Regions from separate parts of the Homo sapiens genome. Here region 2 is linked to region 1. Evidence: promoter capture Hi-C in human tissues and cell types (Jung and others, 2019). All regions are on one chromosome and are shown on one strand. The core of a region is centred on a gene start or on the middle of the fragment in contact, and the rest is flanking DNA. Distances in the headings are between cores, read along the strand shown. Region 1 overlaps PI4KB (phosphatidylinositol 4-kinase beta). Region 2 holds the start of POGZ (pogo transposable element derived with ZNF domain).

Region 1 (6,817 bases), core at 2,953-5,452:
AAACAGCCTCAGCAGCCAAGACTGTTTAGCTGAGTTGTTCTGCCGCCGTCTTCTTGCTCCTTTGGCTGTGCCTGAGGCCACAGCGGCCCCCATCTCATCTTCCTCCTCCCTGATCTGGGCAGGTGGATCATCTAGGCAACGGATCTCACTGTCCACACCATCCCCATTGACCAACTCCAGTGGGGTGCCTCTGCTAGAGACTGCCACGCCTCCATGCAAAAGCTTGACTTTCTCCAACACCTCCTGGCAGGCCTTCTGGGCCACCTCAGGGTCAATCACTGATAGTTCCCCGACCCCCTCCGTGATGACACTTAGCAGGGACCCCCCATTATTCCCTGGTGGGCCAGAAGTGGGCTCAGAAGTTGGCTTCAAGGGGGCAGGCTCCACTACTGTATCTCCCATGGCCACAGCCAGACTTCGAGCTTCCAAGCTACAGGAAGAGGGAGGGAGAAAAGAACAGAAAGGGAGACACATACACACATTGGTTAGTGGTGCCATCCTCAGATCTTCCCTTTGCTATGACACCTTCCCAGGCACCTCCTCTTTTTGTCTTCCTGGACTCCTTCAAAATCAGATAAGAAGACATATCCTAGGAAGCTTTCCTGACTACCTCCACTTCTGATTACATTACTCGTCATTCCTCCTGTAGTTACTCAGCTTAGCCTCTGTTCTTAGCTTATATATGTGAAATGTTGTTTTGTATATGTTGTATTTATATAGATTTACAAATTCTTTTTGTTGTTGTTGTTGTTGTTGTTGTTGAGACGGAGTCTCGCTCTGTCACCCAGGCTGGAGTGCAGTGGCGCAATCTCAGCTCACTGTAAGTTCCGCCTCCCGGGTTCACACCATTCTCCTGCCTCAGCCTCCCAAGTAGCTGGGACTATAGGCGCCCACCACAACGTCCAGCTAATTTTGTTTTGTATTTTTAGTAGACACACGGTTTCACCATGTTAGCCAGGATGGTCTCCATCTCCCAACCTCATGATCCACCCACCTCGGCCTCCCAAAGTGCTGGGATTACAGGCGTGAGCCACTGCACCTGGCCTACATTTACAAATTCTTTTTTTTTTTTTTTTTTGAGACAAGGTCTTGCTCTGTTACCCAGGCTGAAGTGCAGTTGAACAATCTGGGCTCATTGCAACCTTGACCTCCTGGGCTCAAGCAAGCCTCCCACCTCAGCCTCCCAAGTAGCTGGGACCACAGGTGCACACCACCATGCCTGGCTTATTTTTAAATTTTTAATCTTATTATTTTTGAGACAGGGTCTTGCTCTGTTGCCCAGGCTGGAGTGCAGTGGCGCGATCAGAACTCACTGTAGCCTTGATTTTCTGGGCTCAAGCAATCCTCCTACCTCAGCTTCCCAAGTATCCAGGACTACACGCATGTGCCTCCATGCCTGGTTAATTTTTTAAATTTTTCTGTAGAGACAAGGTCTCACCATGTTGCCCAGCCTGGTCTTGAACTGAGCTCAAGCAATCCTCCCTCCTCAGCCTCGTAAAGTGTTGGAATTACAGGCATGAGCCACCATGCCTGGTGATTTACAGATTCTTCGGGTAGACTGAGAAGCAAGTCAGGTGTTACTCCCTTGTTCCCTAACTCTTCAAATACTTTTCTATCCACTTGCTCTTCCTGTCTCCCTTTAAATGCCTGCTATAACCTTTTTATTTTCCACTTTAGACTATATTTCCTTACTCATATAACATTCTACACACAGGTCCTGTGCATCTCACCTTTATTTTTATTTTTTAGAGACAAGTCTTGCTCTGTTGCCCAGGCTGGAGTGCAGTGGCATGATCATAGCTCACTGTAACCTTGAACTCCTAGGCTCAAGGCATCCTCCTGCCTCAGCCTCCCGAGTAGCTAGGACTTTAGGTGTGTGCCATCATGCTCAGCTAATTAAAAAAAAATTTTTTTGTGCAGATGGCGTCTTGCTGTGTTGCCCAGGCTAGCTTTGAACGCCTGGCCTCAAGCAATTCTCCTGCCTCAGCCTCCCAAAGCACTAGGATTACAGGTGTGAACCACCTTGCCCAGCCATCTTTATTTAATATTAAAGTCTTGGCTAGGCGCAGTGGCTCACGCCTGTAATCCCAGCACTTTGGGAGGCCGAGGTGGGCAGATCACGAGGTCAAGAGATCGAGACCATCCTGGCCAACATGGTGAAACCCCGTCTCTACTAAAAATACAAAAATTAGCCAGGCGTGGTGGCAGGCGCCTGTAATCCCAGCTACTCAGGAGGCTGAGGCCGGAGAATTGCTTGAACCTGGGAGGTGGAGGTTGCAGTGAGCCGAGATTACGCCATTGCACTCCAGCCTGGAGACAGAGTGAGACTCTGTCTCAAAAAAAAAAAAAAAGGCCGGGCGCGGTGGCTCACGCCTGTAATCCCAGCACTTTGGGAGGCTGAGGCAGGCGGATTACCTGAGGTCAGGAGTTCGAGACCAGCCTGACCAACATGGAGAAACCTCGTCTCTACTAAAAATACAAAATTAGCTGGGCGTGGTGGCGCATGCCTGTAATCCCAGCTACTTGGGAGGCTGAGGCAGGAGAATCGCTTGAACCCGGGAGGCAGAGGTTGTGGTGAGCCGAGATCGCACCGCTGCACTCCAGCCTGGGCAACAGAGCGAAACTCTGTCTCAAATAAATAAATAAATAAATAAATAAATAAAATTAAAGTCTTGATATATTTTTCTGGTTACAGGTATTTTTTTACCTTCCCTTTTAAACTCGAAGTTCCCAGAAAATAAAGGCCAGTAAATACCATGCCAGGCTTCACTTAGAAGAAGGCAGCTCTAAAACAACCATCATCAACCCTGCTGAAGCTGTGCCGTTTCTCTGGTTGTCTGACATCATGACATCACACCCTCTTTCTCCAGTGCCGTGGCTGCTAACATATAATGGAAAGAGCTCTGGACTTGAAGGCAAATAGGCTGGGGTTGAAAATCCTCATTCAGCCTTTCAGAAATGTGCAACTTATGCAAGCCATTTATCCTCAACTGCAAATTGGGAAAAAACACTTCCTTCTCATTGTTGCTATGTGGAACAAATACCATCACGTGTATGAAAGAATCTAGCACAGTCTTTGATACATAGTAGTACTCAATATATGCTAGTTGAGGCCGGGCACAGTGACTCATGCCTGTAATCCCAGTGCACTGGGTGGCTGAGGCAGGTGGATCACTTTGAGGTCAGCAGTTCAAGACCAGCGAGACTCTGTCTCAAAAAAAAAAAAAAGAAATGCTAGTTGAATCCTCATCACCTAAAAGGTTACTAACCAGTGTGTGTGTAACATAAAACTTATATTATTTTATAAGGGAAGCAAAGAGTTCCAATTGTTTGAGAATCTTCCAGAAATACTTATGACAGCCTTTTCTGCCCCAATACCACTCCCCCCACTGTCATACACACATTCTAACAACTGGAGGGACAATTGAAAAGGCAAAAAGAAATCAGACTAGGACTCATAGATCTAGGCCTTCCAAAGAACAGGGAGGAACAGGAGTCACAAAACAAAGAACACCTCCTCTGGAGGGACTGTTGGAAGGAAGTTCAATGAAAGAACACTGCTGACCAAAGCCACTGCTCTCCAAGAACAATCCTTCAGAGCCTCACCAAATCTGGAATCAGTGCAGAACTGGGGAAATTTCATCAGATCAACCTGGCTCCAGAATCTGACTATAGCTAACAAAGGACTCAGACTCAGAGGCCTCTTCACAAAAATGCTAATAGAGTGAGTCTAAGACACACTCAAGAGCATGAGCAAGAGGAAAGATTTTGTAGAGTTGGAATACAGGTAATTTCAAAATATTAGTGACATCACCTTCAACCCCGGTGACCCTGGATGCATATACTTTGGGTAGGTGGAATAAGGAGGCCTAGAGATTCTTTAGTCCCTCTGGGAGGCTGTTTTCCACCACCACCCTTCCAGTGTCTGTTCTTGTACGTCTGAAATGTTAAGGTTACTTTTTTTTTCTTTTTGAGACGGAGTCTCGCTCTGTCGCCCAGGCTGGAGTGCAGTGGTGCAATCTTGGCTCACTGCAAGCTCCGCTTCCCGGGTTCATGCCATTCTCCTGCCTCAGGCTCACAAGTAGTTGGGACTACAGATGCCCGCCACCACGCCCGGCTAATTTTTTGTATTTTTAGTAGAGGCAGGGTTTCACCATGTTAGCCAGGATGGTCTCGATTTCCTGACCTCGTGATCTGCCCACCTCGGCCTCCCAAAGTGCTGGGATTACAGGTGTGAGCTGCCGCGCCCGGCCCCAGGTTACTTTTAACTGCCCAATATCATATAGTCCAGCTCCCTGCCTCCCAGCAGTCACCACTAAAGTTTTGCAGAAAGACGGATGGGGAACTCTTCTGTTCTCAGAGATCACCAAAAAAGGCTATTTCTGTTTCTTTCTGCCAACTCTGCCAAGCAAGTTCATTCCTGAATTTAATATCCCTGATGCAGATTGAGCTTGGTATTGGTAAGAAGGTGGCAACTCTTTCACTATGCTCTCTCCCAAAATTAGGTAGTGCCCTCTGAGCAGTAGAACCAGCATGGCTGCCTATGTGGATCTGTCCCTACTCGCAACTGTGAGTTGCACAGGAATAATAAGAAGGAAGCTTTAATCATTCCCTGCCACACCTTCGTAGGGCACTCTCATCAGAGGGTCACCGATTCAACGGGGACCACTACCTTTTAGGTCTGCTTAGAAACTCATGTGATAGCCTCAATCATCTTAAACAATCAACTTCTTTTTCTCAGTCTCTATGTTTGGTACATCCTTTCCTCTCCCTCTAGTCCACAGACTTTTAAGTCACTGAAAGCTCCTAGAAGTACACTTTTCAAAACTTTCAAGGGAAATACAGTTCAGACATTCTCCCACATAATAGTGTCTCAGACCTCACTAGAAAATTTAGCAGATGCCTGCCCCAATTAACTACGATTGGGATTATTACTGGCACCAGGAAGGCAAATAAGGATACTATCACCTCTTTTATCTCACAGACAAAAGAAAAACTCCCAGGGCTCAGCTAAGAATCACATCACAGTATTCAGAGGATTTTGCTACTGAACAGACTCTCCCTCCCGGCAGCTTTTACTCCTCAGGGAGCTAGACAGTGTTGAGAGGTGCAGGAAAAAACAGACTCCTCTCCTATATAAGCAGCTCTACCACTAGAAACCACCAAACTGGAGCTGGGTCTCTTCCCTGGCCTCTCAGGAACCCAGGCACTGCCTGCATCTGAAGCAAGTCATATGGAGAAGAAGGTGTTGTAGGGAATAGGGTTAAATTGCTTTAGCTATTTATTATTACTATTATTTTTATTTTATTTATTTTTTTGAGACAGAGTCTTGCTCTGTTGCCCTGGCTGGAGTGGAGTGCAGTGGCGCAATGTTGGCTCACCGCAACCTCCGCCTCCCAGGTTCAAGCGATTCTCCTGCCTCAGCCTCCCAAGTAGCTGGGATTACAGACACCCGCCACCATGCCCAGCTTGCTTCATTTAGTTTTGAATGCCAAGAAAATATGCCTTTGTGGGCAGGGCATGGTGGCTCACGCCTGTAATCCCAGCACTTTGGGAGGCTGAGGAGGGCAGATCACGAGGTCAGGAGATGGAGACCATCCTGGCTAACACAGTGAAACCCCGTCTCTACTAAAAATACAAAAAATTAGCCGGGCATGGTGGTGGGCACCTGTAGTCCCAGCCACTTGGGAGGCTGAGGCAGGAGAATAGCATGAACCCAGGAGGCGGAGCTTGCAGTGAGCCGAGATCACACCACTGCACTCCAGCCTGGGCGACAGAGTGAGACTCTGTCTTAAAAAAAAAAAAAAAAAAAAGCCTTTGAGGGTAACTGTTCTAAAGAAAATGAAAGGACTGGAAAGCAAAAGAAAAGGTGAAGGAAAAAGTCCTGTATTCAACAGCCTTCCCCTTCTAAGTCAGAGGAATAAGAAAAAAGTGACGGAAGACAATCTAAATTTTTAATATTAAATGACTCCTATGGCCTTCAAGGGGGTTCAGACAACTGAGGCTCTACACTTCACACTGGGAACCTAAATTCTCCTTCCAGTCAGACTGGAAGGGAAATGGAAGAGGCCTCCCCTGTTCCACAGCCTAACAGCTGGCCCCTAGGAAAAGTTGACAACTGACTGAGTTCCACAGCTCCCAACTGGGCAAAGTAGGGAATTCTGGTCTGAGTGACAAGGAATTGTTACAGGTCACACAGAGCAGCAGCTGGAGAAGACACAGAAGATATACACATATGTTCTGTGTGACTGAGCAGTTAAAATACATGTCTGCAGAGGACTCTCTGGGGAGGAGATGCTATCGCTTAACCTAGCTCCCCATTTCTTATCACCTCAAAAGATTCCAGGCAAACAACTTTCTACTGGCCTCCATTAAAGGACTTATTGGATCAGTCTCTGCTAGGACAGAATGGTAAAGAGCCCCAAATCAATCCCCTCACCCAGTTAATCACCATTCTCTTTTTCAAAATTTTTTCCATGGACTAGATAAATATGGATTGGTTTGCACCAATTCTGATATTTTTATGTTCTTATATTTTCATAGAATGGCTTTAAGAGATCATCTGATCTAGTGCCCTGCTTCCAAGCAGGCAGGCTGGCTCAATTTTCCTCCTTTTAAAGGATCCTTTATTTCCCCACCCCTTGCCTTTTTATTTTTTTCCTTTTTCTTTCTTAAGAGACAGGCTCTTACTCTGTTGCCCAGGTTGGAGTGCAGTGGTGGAATCATGGCTCACTATACGATTTCTGGTTGGGGATGCTTCCAAGGAGGAAAGCTTCTTCCTGGCCTCAAGCTACCCTCCCGCCTAGGCCTCCCAAAG
Region 2 (6,770 bases), core at 4,108-6,607, 140 kb after region 1:
ACTTACTGCCAGTACATACCTGCCCAAAAATCAACATAAAAAGAACATTTGGAACAGGAAAAATATTTTACAGAAAACAAACATTTTAAGAATACCACTTTCTTGTTCCAGGGTGAAAAATAAACAATGATAATCCTCAACATAACTGGTAATTATGTTTTCAAGTTACCTCAATTTTTGGCTCTAAAAAGGACTAATACCAGAAAACCTATAGGGCTGAATACTTAATCTGTGTATAAAACTATAGTTAAACATGTAATAAGCTTTTATTTATCCAGTCTTTTGCACAGCCCATTTTGTCCCTCACAACATCTGTTATAGTACCTCATATGTAAGAATCATAAGGGTTTTAAGTAGTCTTAATAACCTAAAATTTCCAAACTCAAAATACTTTCCTCTTGTCTGGTAGCCAATCCTGTATCAAGAAACACCCAAATATTTAGTTCTGTGCTCTTTACTAAAACAAGTAAGCAACAAGTTCTCTTCTTTAAAGGGGTTCAATATTCAGGAGTCCCTTTCCCAAGAAAAATATCTATACTATGATGGAAAACTTTTCTTCAATGACAGCTGTGTGTTGCCTAAATTCCATTTCTATGCTTTCAATTTCTTTTAACTCTGCTAACACCTAGCAATAGGTTAGTGTCTCTTTTCTGCTCTCCTCCCCTTGGTTACATATAAAAATACGTTTTTCAGTTGGGCGTGGTGGCTCACGCCTGTAATCCCAGCACTTTGGGAGGCCAAGGCGGGTCGATCAAGAGGTCAGGAGTTTGAGACCAGCCTGATCAATATGGTGAAACCCCATCTCTAGAAAAATACAAAAATTACCCAGGTGTGGTGGCGCGTGCCTGTAATCCCAGCTACTGAGGAAGCTGAAGGAGGAGAATCGCTTGAACCCAGGAGGCGGAGGGTGCAGTGAGCCGAGATTGCGCCATTACGCTCCAGCCTGGGCAATAGAGCGAGACTCCATCTCAAAAAAAAAAAAAAGACAAGTTTTTGTGAATATGGCTTAATATCACAAACAAGAATACCAAAGAATCTATCAAAATGTTACCATATTGATATTATGGCAAAGGCATTAACCAGCTCTAGGATTTGTAATCAACCAGCTCTAAAGTTTTTATTTTACAGATAAGGTCAAAACAGTGGTTTAGAGAGACGAAGTAACTTCCTCAAGGTTACAGTTAGTAAATATCCCAGTTAGGATTCAAAGCAAGCTTTTTTTGCTTTAGAATTCTTCCCCAGGTCACTGCCTCTTCCATCAACTTCAACTATTTATAAATTCTCCCAAGTTCCCCAAGGGAGTTAGATTTGAATGATGTAAAGAGCAGAAACATAGGACTGACTGAATGATTCTCATTTTTTTGACTCTTAAAATTATTGAAGACGCCAAAGATCTTTTGTTTATGTGAATTTTATCTTTCCACATTTACCACAAATTTTTAAAATGTAGTATTTATCAATGTATTTTAAGACAAGCCCATTATAAGTTAACATAAATAACATTTCAACAAAAAATACTTTCCCTCCAAAAAGTGAGAAAAGTAACGTTGTTTTGCATTTTGCAAATCTCTTTTATGTCTAACTTGATAAAAGATGGTTGGATTCTCACAGTTACTTCTGCATTCAGTCTGTTGCTATATGTAGCTTTGGTTAAGTATATAATGAAAATCTAGTCGGAAAAGGGAGAAGTATTTTAATAACCTTTTCAGATAACTGTGTTTGGTAAATACTAAAACTCAACAAACGGTAGTTTCTTTCTTTTTTTTTTTTTTTTTTTTTTTTAATAAATAGAGACAGGGTCTCACTATGCTGACCAGGCTCAACTCCAACTCCTGGGCTCACACAATCCTTCCACCTTGGCCTCCCAAAGTGCTGGGATTACAGGAGTGAGCCACCACGCTAGGCCAAATAGTAGTTTCTTAAAGGACAGTTAACATTTTGGAATCTGAAACCACATCAATCCACTTTTTTACTGTTAAAATCCATTGCTATGTCTGGAATTTTCAAAGGATCTTTTGCCTTTGCTTGATTTTGCAACATCATGCATTGGTCATTTGCAAAGCCTAGATTTACTGAGTTATGCCCATCTTCCAAATAACATATTTCATTAAACAACATTTTAAAATATTGCAGTCCTTAACCACTGATATCATAAGGAAAGTCTTTTAAGTACTAGGAAGCTGTCAAACTCCAGCTGTCAACTTTTTAAAAATTCTAATTTTCACCCAAATTTTATCACTGGTAATAAATACTGTCAGTTGTTTTCCTAAAAGTGACAAGCTCACTTCATTTTCAAGAAATATCTGCCAAATACTAAGTGTGAAAAACCATAGTCTGCTAGTCGTTCTTTCAAGTAAAAATGCTACTCCATGAAATAAGCCATTCATTCACAACCCAATCTCACAAATGCTTTTCCTTCATGACAACAATCACACCTCCCTAGGCAGCATAAATGCTTTATCCATGTTTATTTAATCACAAATTCTTAAAAATTAAAAAGACATGTAGTCAAAAGCTAAGACTTAATAATAATAGGCCGGGCACGGTGGCTCATGCCTGTAATCCCAGCACTTTGGGACGCCGAGGCAGGTGGATCGCCTGAGGTCCGGAGTTCGAGACCAGCCTGGCCAACATGGCGAAACACTGTCTCTACTAAAAATACAACCAGGGAGGAAGAGATTGCAGTGAGCCGAGATAGTGCCACTGCACTCCACCCTGGGCGACAGAGCAAAACTCCGCCTCAAAAAAATAAAAATAGAATAATAAATTTTACTGCTTCAAGGGCATTCTCAAGTAGTTTGGTGCCCCTGACTTGCTTTGTGCTAAGGTACCGCCAGTAGTTTTACCCAGCCTTGCTTTTGAACCATCAGTGTATCAGTGAAAACAATAAATAGCATCTTACTATTATTTTGAAAATAGTTATGACCTTGAGGCTACCCTGAAAGGGTAAGAGGAGATCCCCATGGGTCATCTGTCCACACTTTGAGAACTGCTTTCCTACATTATACCACTAGTTCAAGATGGGAGTGGAAACTCTAACTAAATCAGGTTCGTCCCAAGAGTCCATTCTGTTACCTCCTTTAGTTTGAGATACACCACCAACACAGCTCTGGAAAAGGGAAGGAAATCAACGGCACAAGGTGTCACTTGTTTCAACATCTTGAACACTTTTATGTTAGACCAGTAATTCTCAATGTAGTGGTTACATTAATCAGTCTCAGCCCCAGGACTGCTCATTTGAAAATGTAAAGATGACAACCCCCCTCTGCTCCATTCAAATAAATTTGGGGGATGAGGCCCCCCAAATTGTACGTTTAACCACCTTCAAGTTACTTTTTATGCACCCCGAAGTTGAGAACGATTGTGCTAACAGTTCGAATTCAGAGTTCAAGCTCTCAGACCCTGAGCAATAGTGTCTCAAAATTAATCGTTTGCCAACGAGCAGCCCTCCCTGCCCCCTCCGTTTCCCTTTCCTCTAGTTGGGTAAATGCCTACAGAAGTAAAACCCGGCCGGGCGCGGTGGCTGACGCCTGTAATCCCAGCACTTTGGGAGGCCAAGGCGGGCGGATCACCTGAGGTCAGGCGTTCAAGACCAGCCTGGCCAACATGGTGAAACCTCGTCCCTACTAAAAATACAAAAATTAGCCGGGCGTGGTAGCACATGCCTGTAATCCCAGCTACTAGGAAGGCTGAGGCAGGAGAATCACTGGAACCCGGCAGGCGGAGGTTGCAGTGAGCAGAGATCGTGCCACTGCACACCAGCCTGGGCGACAAGAGTGAAACTTCGTCTCAAAAAAAAAAAAAAAAGTAAAACCCCATTTCTGTGGAGTTTTGAGCGGCGGTAAGAGGTGTCTACGGGCTTGGAAGGACGGGCTACACCGCTTGCATCAAGACGGCGGCTGCTGTGAGATAGTCCAACTGCATCTTAGTTTCCATTTCGAAAATGAGACTGGCCACTAAATGACTCTAAGGACTCATCAGCACTACCTTTTTCTGAACTAAGAATGTCTAAGACAAGTGCTACTAGCAGTTTGAGAGAATCCCACATCTGGAGAGGAAGGAAATAAGAACAACACGCAGAAAGACGGAAAACAAATAGATCAATGACAGTACTCCTTTGCAAAAGGTGCCAAGAATCTAAATAAAATAGTCCCCGGGATAAACATGGCGCCCACCGCGGCAGGACATAATCACCAGAAAATAAAGATTCCCCGCCTCATTCCATTTTATAAATCACGGCGCCATCCCAAAAGAAATTTGGGGACCGAGGGAGGAGACTTCGTAAACTAGCTGCAGTGCACTAAGGCTTAGGATGTACTATTAGACCAAGCAGAGATTACATAACACAAGGGATCGGCTCAGCAATCACTCATTTTCCTCCTCCCGCTCAAAACGAGCGCCCCACTCCTTCTCGGAGCGGGAATGGGGCGGGGAGGGCCGCGCACCCCCACCCCCAGGGGCCGCTCCGCCGCCGCCCGCCCCTCCGCCGCACGGCCTCGCCCCCTCGCCGGCCCCTCCCGCCGCGCCCCGCCGTCTCGCCACCGCCCGCGCCCCCGCCCCCGCCCCTTCCCCAGCGGGCCACCGCCCGCGCCCGCGCCGCCCACTCCTCCGAGACGCCTCGCGCCGAGCGTGCGTGTGGACGTCGGGCTGTGTGCGGGGCCGTGGGGCGCGAGTGCGCGCGCGCGCGCCGCGGCGGGCGCCGGGGGGCGGGGGCGGCCGGCCAGCCGGCAGGCAGGGACCTCCGCCGCCGGCCCTTCGCGCGGCTCCCGCGGCCCGGGGCGCACGCACACACACTCGCGCTCGCGCGCCGCACCCCGCGGCCGCCCCTGCCGCGGGCCGCGCCGCCACTCGCGGTGGGCGGGGGCGCGCACCGCCGGCCCCCCGCCCCCACCCCCGCGCGTACCGGCCCCATCCCCCTCTCATTGTCTCGCCTCTGAACGCCTCGCCGAGCGAAAAGATAACGGAACCCCCGGGAGCAGGGGGTGGGGAGAGAGAAGGCTCGCTCGCTCACTCACCTCCTGTGGTCGTCGCCGCCGGTAGTCTGACCCGAGGAAGGCGCCGTCGCCTTAAAGGGACCTTACACCCGGCGCCAGAAGGGGGTGGGAGCAGGGGGAGGGGACGGGGGCTTGGGGGGAGACGAAGAAGAGGTAACCGTTGAAAGCTCGTCTCCCCAAGGGTGAAAGGAAGCCTCCCTCGGGTTCGAGTGATTCGGGGTGGATTTTTTTCCCGAGGGGGGCGGGGGGGCCCCGAGGGAGGGGGGTGGGGGGGCCAAGGAATGCGGCTCCGTGTACGGGAGCTGGCGCGGGGGAGAGAGACGCCGACTCCCCCCACCGACCCTCTCGCCCCGCGGAGGGATACGGCTCGTCACTTCCGCCCTCCCCTTTTTCACGGCCTCCCAATTGGTCGGAGCGCGCTGCACGTCATGGGCTCATCCAAACCCCTGCCCGGGCTTCTTTTCTAGTCAAGTTTGGCTGGGCCTGCAAATAAATAAATAAAGGAAAACATTTTTTGTAATGAAAAAAGAATAATTAGCTTCAGAAGCTATATCTAAATTTTGGTGAGAAAAATGAGACTTCCAAAGAAAATATTCCCCAATTTACTTGCCAAGAGTTTCCAAGGAAGTGTTGGGAGGCTCCCCCACTTTCCACTCAAGGCTTAGACCCAGTCAAGAGGGAGACTTCATGACACAGGCCAGGTGGTGAGGCCCAGTGGCACCAACAACTGTCATTGGAACAAAGAACAAAATGGCACTCACTCTTTCTCAAGAGACACTCGGCCAAGTAACCTTGTGGCTGCGGCCTTGTTTAAGTGAAGAACTTTTAAAAGCCATTTTGATCCTCAAGCCCTTCTGGATCCTGGAAAGAAGTGGCACACGATTGTTAAAGCGATTATTGTGATGGAAACTGCTTTGCTCCCATTGTGAGTAGATTCAGCAGAGATCCCCAGTTCCAAGAAACCACACACACTCCACATCCTTATGCTTTTTGCTCCAATCAAGGCTGAGATGGGTTGGCTCAAAGAAATTGGTTAGTCCACTCAAACGACCATCCACCTGTTTATTCTTCCCCAGACAAAAACTACCTCTTTTCAGGTAGCTAAGAAATTTTGTCCTTTATTGCCTTCTGAGATTATAAAAATGTAATATTTTCCTTGAATATTTGAAAATGTTTGCTATTTAAGCAATACACAAATATTTGCTTCAAACCAAATGTGAAATCAAGGTACTTGGTGCAGAAAGGGGAAATCCAGAACTATGTTTATTTGTGCTCTTTATATACACACTCCATTCAAACCACCAGACTGAAAATAGGCAGTGGAAGTAGGCATTCCAAATTGTATGCACCTGCCCGTGTGAGTGTGCACATGTGCATACACATACACACACTGCCACCACCCAGTTTCATTCCATTTCATACCAAAACCATGTGAGTGATTTCCACTAGTGTAGGATGCTTAGGAAGGACTTCATTATTTGAATGAGAAGAATCACTAAATCCTTCTGAAAATACTTCTGAAGACTTTCCAGACCTGATCTGGAGAAGCCCATATTAGGATTATGGGATCAATCACCAAAAGACTACATGAAACTCAAATCCTATTTTATACTGTCGTGTAATTAGTATAATTCATTATATATGTTATATTTACATTATGTATATTACGTTATTAACCTTTGAAAAATTCCAACATATTTCCCCATGCCCTGTCAATTTATTCTCCCAGCCAATGAGATCTAGCGCAGACTATGCCATATACCGTTGACCAGTAAC

Evidence for each region. The method cuts DNA at HindIII sites, captures the fragments that hold promoters and counts their contacts. A contact is called where the count stands out against the background at its distance.
Region 2: a contact is called between the fragment with the promoter of POGZ here and a fragment that was not itself captured in region 1, in 1 of the 25 tissues and cell types used here (lymphoblastoid cells).

What each region holds. Positions count from the first base shown.
Region 1 is chr1:151,316,080-151,322,896 of GRCh38, forward strand. PI4KB (phosphatidylinositol 4-kinase beta) reads right to left here. Exons shown (of 12, transcript NM_001369623.2): 2 at 1-430. The coding sequence starts at 402. Among named protein-coding and RNA genes, the nearest start is that of PI4KB, 7.9 kb to the right of the region's middle. The HindIII fragment of the contact is 7,586 bases long and covers 410-6,817 here.
Region 2 is chr1:151,454,137-151,460,906 of GRCh38, forward strand. It overlaps POGZ (pogo transposable element derived with ZNF domain), which reads right to left and starts at 5,358. Exons shown (of 19, transcript NM_015100.4): 1 at 5,016-5,358. RefSeq lists silencers at 4,459-4,508, 4,699-4,748 and an enhancer at 5,579-5,628. The HindIII fragment of the contact is 8,213 bases long and covers 739-6,770 here.